Regions from separate parts of the Homo sapiens genome. Here region 2 is linked to region 1. Evidence: promoter capture Hi-C in human tissues and cell types (Jung and others, 2019). All regions are on one chromosome and are shown on one strand. Each heading gives the region's core, a stretch centred on a gene start or on the middle of the fragment in contact. The rest is flanking DNA. Distances are from core to core; before and after follow the strand shown. Region 1 holds the start of TM4SF4 (transmembrane 4 L six family member 4). Region 2 has its middle 43 kb from the start of TM4SF4.

Region 1 (3,317 bases), core at 388-2,887:
GATACCATCTTTTGTCCTGTCCCAAGTCCCCTTTGCAGATGAGGCAATTCAGGGCCAGAAAAGGGAAATGACTTGTCCAAGTTCTTATGGCCTCTCAGTGGCAGAGGAATGCTGCAGCTTCATCTCTGCCTTCCAGGCTTGCATTCTGTATATGGGACCCCTCTGAATCTCCAGTTCTGACATCCCTGTCGGTTTGTAAAATCTAATACAATATTCATACCCTATAAGTATGAGGGCTATGGTATTTTGGAAAATTATTATTATTTCACACTGGCAGGAAAAATCACAGTTTTATCCCTTCACCAGCTGCTCCCAGAGTCCTGGCTGGAGCTGATAACTTGTCTCCATCCCCATGCTGCCCAGCACAAAAGCACAGAGCACCCTGGAGTAATTCTAGTAGCTGCCCCCCATGGTAACTCACCGCAAATCGCTTCCCACAGCCCTCGTTGCCGCAGCACCCACAGCAGTCATTGTTCTTCAGGCCCAAGAACACCAGCGCAGGGAAGATCATCTACCAGGAGAAGAGGCACCTCAGAGAGAGTCCAGGAGTTGAAGGGAGGGCCCGAGCCTGCCTGACTGTATAAGGAGCCCCATCCACAATGAGGGATTTGGAGGCCCAAAGGGAATGGCAAAGTAACAGAGCATGGCTGGAGGGGTAATGGAGTGTTATGGAGTACTTAGATTCCATTTGGGCTGACTAACCAGCTTCAATGAGGCAAGATTTCAAAATCTGAGTTTCCATTTAGATGGTGTGTTAGAAAAAAGAATAACAAACTTTTCCTCAATTGTCATGAAGAGTGAGTCTCTCTCCCTTTCACTCTCTCAAACGGAGGTTCCCAATTCTATTGGAAACCAGAGGTAAAGAAATCATTAGGTCCTAAGTGGAAGACGACCACACTGACAACAGCTTCTCATGGTGGTTTTAAGTCAATTTGCTTTTCTAGTGGGTTTGCATCGTGGGTTTGTTGTTGTTATTGTTTTGGGCACTATCTTGTTGGAATCAAGAAACTATGCGACCTTCACTTCGGTTCATGGGACTCAAATGACCCATGAGAACTGTCAGCCCAAGCTTAGAGATTAATTACTTAGTAAATTTAGCTGACGTGTCCTTGTCAGATCCTAACAGAAACGAGAAAAAAATTAAGGCATTGACCTCTCACCATGCAATGCTTGAGCTTCTATTACCAACTAAATATCTCCCTGTTCAATAAGTACCTGATTTAAAAAGGATTGTGGGGAAGGGAAAATCTCCCTTAGGGGGATTTTAAGCTTCCCTACTCACCAAGACACCGCTTCCTAATATTCCTCCGAAAAACCAGATCTCTTGGGAAAGGTGGTCGTTGTCATCTATCACTTTTCCTCCAGGAAAAAATAACAGGATGTTAGCCAGGAAGCCAAAAAAAGCAAGGGGAATGAGGGTCCCCCCCAGGCATCTGGCACAGCCCCCAGTGCACATTCTGGGGTGGTACGACACAGGTCAGCAATCAAAAGCTCCTCACTGCCTCCTTCACGGGGCCTCTTCAAGGGTTTTTGGCCAGAGAGTCCTTGTAATTGTCTCCAATTCAATCAGTATTTTGGGGCTGAGAACCAAATTTCTGTGAACTGTGTCCTTGGAGTTGCTTCAGCTTCTCAAAAATAGCAGAACCTCGATGGCAATGGACATTTATACATTCTCCCTGACCTGAAGTGCTTTGTTTTTTGCACCCCCATAAATGAGATTACGTTCAGAGCAATCATTCAATCGTTTTGCCATGGAGACCAATAACCTCTGTTAATAATCCACCAGCACAGACAAGACACTCACATTGTTGCAATCGAAGACAGGGCTGGAACAAACAGCATTTAGAACCACTGCACCTTTAATCTGACAGTGCCCATGCCCAAATAAAGAAATATTTTCTCCAGACTCTTTATAAATCACTAATATAATTGAGTTACATCCTGGTTAAAATCATGTCTCCCAAGTACTTAATGGTGTACAGTGCGTGTCTTTGTCTTTTCCACTGAAAGCCTGGAATTCAGGGTTATCCAAAAGAGCTTCTGTTTTCCTCAATATCAAAATAATTTGATGGTCTAGTTGTGTATCATTGAGCTCAGACTTAAAAGAATTGTTTAAGGCAAAAAGCTACTGTTCATTTTATTGTCTGATTGCTGTGTTTCTCTACTTGTTACGCAATTAAGTAATTAAGTTCTATCTTTTCCCTACACGATGTGATGGAATTAGCAAAAACAGTTTTCCTAATCAACTTTCTCAGCTATGTCTTCCATATAGGAATAAAGAAACCATCATCCACTAAGGCTAAGGGGAAAGGAAGGTCAGCATTGGTAGAGAGGGAGAGAAAAGGTCCTGATGAGTTGACTGGGGAGAAGACACAGTTGGAAGAGCAGTTATAGAGTGCAGGAGGCAGTAAAACACACCCCTATTAGAAAGTTTGCCAACTGCCAGGGGCATGATTCATTCATTTGCTTTGTGTCACTTAAGAAGTTCTCTGCCACGCCTGGACCAAGCTCTACATTATGCGATGGCCCTGCCTGGTACTGGTATTACATAACAGCTGAAGGATTAAGAGGTGGAACTGGAAGTCTTACTAGTTCTTCATTGAGAATCTAGAGGTTAAAATAGGTCGAATATTTTAGGGAGTCAAATTTTAGCTAAATAAAAAGCAAGTGACATTATTACCATGGTAAGACCTGTCCTACCGTGGAATAGGCCACCTGCTCACAAGGAAGCCATGGACTGGGCTTTGCCAAGGCTCAGAGGCCCTTGGAAAGGGAAGCTGTGGGAAGGATTCCAGAAAAGTCAGACTGGAAAAATGTTGAGGCTCCTTCTAAAATTTCTAAGAAATGAGTACTGGTTGCTTTATAAAGATACTTAGAAATCTCAGGGTCAGGATGAGAAAGAAAGCAGAAAAACAGCAAATGTTTATTGAGCCATGCATAATACTCCAAGCACGAATGAGCACCTTAAATGTTCTTCACCCTTCTGTGAAGAAGGTGTCATGCCCCCTTCACAAGTGGGGATGCTTCTGCTCAAAGTGATTTTTGCAAGCTCATCTCAGCATAAGAAGAAGAGCTAAGATTTTATTTTTTATTTATACATACTATTTTACACATTTATGGGGTACGTGTGATATTTTACATGTGTAGAATATGTAGTGATTAAGCCAGGGTATTTGGGGGTATCCATCACTGAATATTGATCATTTCTATGTGCTGGGAACAATTTAAGTCCTCTCTTCTAGCTACTTTGCAATCTATAATACATTATCACTAACCATGGTCACTTTACTGTAATGTCAAACAACAGAGGTTATCCC
Region 2 (3,317 bases), core at 359-2,858, 43 kb after region 1:
CAGGGCCACACTCGGGCTCCTCACGAAGCCCATGATCATCAAAACCAGGACCAAGACGTTCATCTGGCATCAGTCTGACTGATATGTCAAAATTAAGCAGAAACCCCGTGGTATTGACAACAGTGTTCGTAGAAGATTTAAGGGCCAGATCTTGATGCCCAACATTGGTTATGGGAGTAACAACAACAATAACAAAAAAGCACATGCTGCTCAGCGGCTTCTGAAAGTTCCTGATCCACAGTGTCAAGGAACTGGAAGTGCTGTTGCCGTGCAAGAAATCTTACCGTGCTGAGATCACTCGGTGTTTCCTCCAAGAACAGCACAGCTATGGTGGAAAGAGCAGCCCAGCTGGCCCTCAGAGTCACCAGTCCTAATGCCAGGCTGTGCGGCGGGGAAAATGAACAAACAGCTCATGTCTACGTTTTATTTGTGTTTAAATACAACCATAGGAACTGGAAACAAACAAACAAACACGGGTTTGAACTTTGTGGGTCCACTTATGTGTGGATTTTCTTCTGCCTCTGCCACCCCTGAGACAGCCAGATCAAGCCCTCCTTTGTTTCTTCCTCCTCAGCCTACTAGGCATGGAGATGAGGAGGTTGAAGACCTTTATGATGACCCACTTTCAATTAATGAATAGTAAATATATTTTCTCTTTCTTATGATTTTCTTAATAACTTTTCTCTAGCTTACCTTAGTGTAAGAATATAGCATATAAAACATATAACACACAAAATATTGAGTGTTTATTTTACCGGGAAGCCTTCTGCTAAACAGCAGAACTATTGGTAGTTAAGTTTTGGGGAAGTCAAAAGTGATACATGAAGTTTTGACTGCACAGGGGTTGGCGCCTCTAACTCTCACGTTGTTCAAGGGTCAACTGTATGGTTTTTGCCATTTATCAGTAGAGATAGACTTGATGGGCCCTAATGTTGCTTCTAATTCCTAATGTTCAACTATAGCCAGGGCTTCTCTTAGAACAAATGAAGGTCTTGCCTTTTTGCCAATTTTGAAAGTAGAAGGAACTGCAGATTTAAAGTTAGTGAGCTGTGGGTCTGAATCTGGCCCCATTACCTGCTAGGAGTGTTTCTTATCTTTCGGTCTAGAGTACTTCATCTGTGAAGTGAGAATGCCAGTATCTTTCTTAAAGGGTTCTGACAAGGATTGAAATACAACATATAAACTAAATATATAGGGTTGGGAAAGAGGGTCAATGGTTTTAAACATTAGCATTAGGGAACCAAATATATTTACACACGGTTCACTAGCATTCTGTTAATGATTCCTATTCATTTAGAAACAGTTTATAAAAAAAGACAAATAAGAATTGGGGGTGACTTAACCTGTTCCAGTGACCTATTTCTATGTAATAAACCACTCAGATTTTCATAGCTTAAACCAACAGCTTATTATTTCTTGTAGATCTGTAGATTTAACGGTGATAAAAACTTCTTAAAGATTTATTGTTGTGGCTTTCTTTGGAAAAGACAATCTACAGTAAAATCCTGTCTAGATTCCTCATGATTAATATCTAAAAGTGGTGTTTTCTATGAGCCCCTCCCTGTTGTCTCACTATAGTTATTTTGGCAGATTCTATCACCTGTTATATCTTTAACTAGGAAAACCTTTTGAGAATCCAAAGGGGTCCTGTGTCCCTGTATCACGGTGACCAATCTCTTTCAGAAGCTGAAGAACATCTACAGTAAAGATTGACCAATGGACTTCTGCTTCAAAAATCTGCCCTGACTCTGTGTGTGTGTCCTTAGTAACAGCTCTTAGCCTCCCTGAACTTCAGCTTGTTTCTCTGGAAAACTGGGGTAGGAGAGTGGACTGGAAGGGTCTGTAAAGTGCTTTCCTTAGCTGATATTCTATGATTTAAAAAAAATAATTTGGCACTACATAAGGCAGAAATATTTCATAATCTAATTATTGCAGAATCCTTAAAGGTTAAGAAAATGTATACTGGAAGCGGTACTGTAACGCAGAAACCTGCTGTCAGTGTAAAATGGTGTCTTGGGTTTGTATAGCACTCGAATAACTGCAATTGGCACTAGTTTATTTTTAAAATTTTTAAAAATCACCTTTCTCAGGTTGAATATACTATTTCAGTTTGATAAAAATATCCCAGTAGTATTTATTAAATAAAATCATTTACAATGGTTTCTTTCTAATTCTAAAAGCTTAATTCTATGTTAAAGTTTGACTTACATCTTGAGACCTTAAAAGATACAGAAGTGTACTCAGTTTTACAGAATAGAGGGTAAGAATTAGAGAATTATCTCTTTTGCATTACAAGCCATTTTGTAGAAAGAAAAATACAGAGCCAGAGAAAGACATTTTATTAGGAACATTAGGCCAGGTGCAGTGGCTCATGCCTGTAATCCTAGCACTTTAGGTGACTGAGGCAGGTGGATCACTTGAGCCCAGGAGTTTGAGACCAGTCTGGGCAACATGGTGAGCCCCATCTCTACTAAAAATACAAAAATTAGCTGGTTGTGGTGGTGGTGCGCATCTGTAGTCCCAGCTACTCAGGAGGCTGAGGTGGATCACCTGAGCCTGGAAAGTCGAGGCTGCAATGAGCCATGAATACACCACTGTATTCCAGCCGGGGTGACAGTGAGACCCTGTATCAAAAAAAAAAAAAAAAAAGAAAGAAAGAAAGAAACATTTTCGCATTAAGTGTTTCTCAACACAATTCTCTTGAGTGTTTCTAGGAGAGAATGACCACAATAACGAGGAGTTTAGAAATTACAGTAAATGAATAGTTAAAGGAACTAGAATGTTAGGTTGGAGAATTTGGGGGACTATACTAATTGTCATCAAACATTTAGAAGATGTCATCTGCTGAGAAAGGCATTTTGGGAAGCTCCACTTGATAGAACTAAGAAGTTACTAAACTTAATAAAAAGACTTCAGTTCAATATAAGGCATTTTCTAACAATTATAGCCCCTTTTTCAGGACTACTGCCCTTGAAATGGAAATGGTAGTGTTTTTGTCACCAGATATGTTTAAACAGAAGCCAGATGGTCCCTTGGTAGCCATGTAAAGGCCAGGAACGGATAGTGCACAAAAGAGGAAATATAAATAATTCATAAGCTTATGGAAAAATGTTCAACCACACTGGTAATTAGAGAAATGCAAATTCAAACTTTGATAAGATACCACTTTTTATTTATGAAACTGGTGAAGGTAAGAAAAATAATATTCAAGTTTGATGGAGATTTGATGAGCCTCAGCCTCCAATGTGGTGGGTGAGAATATAAATTTGTTCAGAATTTCCAAAAAGCAGTTTAACAACGTGTGTCCAAAACTTAAA

Evidence for each region. The method cuts DNA at HindIII sites, captures the fragments that hold promoters and counts their contacts. A contact is called where the count stands out against the background at its distance.
Region 2: a fragment that was not itself captured here is called in contact with the fragment with the promoter of TM4SF4 in region 1 in 1 of the 25 tissues and cell types used here (mesenchymal stem cells).

What each region holds. Positions count from the first base shown.
Region 1 is chr3:149,473,017-149,476,333 of GRCh38, reverse strand. TM4SF4 (transmembrane 4 L six family member 4) reads right to left here and starts at 1,637. Exons shown (of 5, transcript NM_004617.4): 1 at 1,283-1,637; 2 at 422-511. The coding sequence starts at 1,456. The HindIII fragment of the contact is 12,667 bases long and covers 1-3,317 here.
Region 2 is chr3:149,430,128-149,433,444 of GRCh38, reverse strand. It overlaps the pseudogene RPL32P8. Among named protein-coding and RNA genes, the nearest start is that of TM4SF4, 43 kb to the left of the region's middle. The HindIII fragment of the contact is 3,608 bases long and covers 1-3,317 here.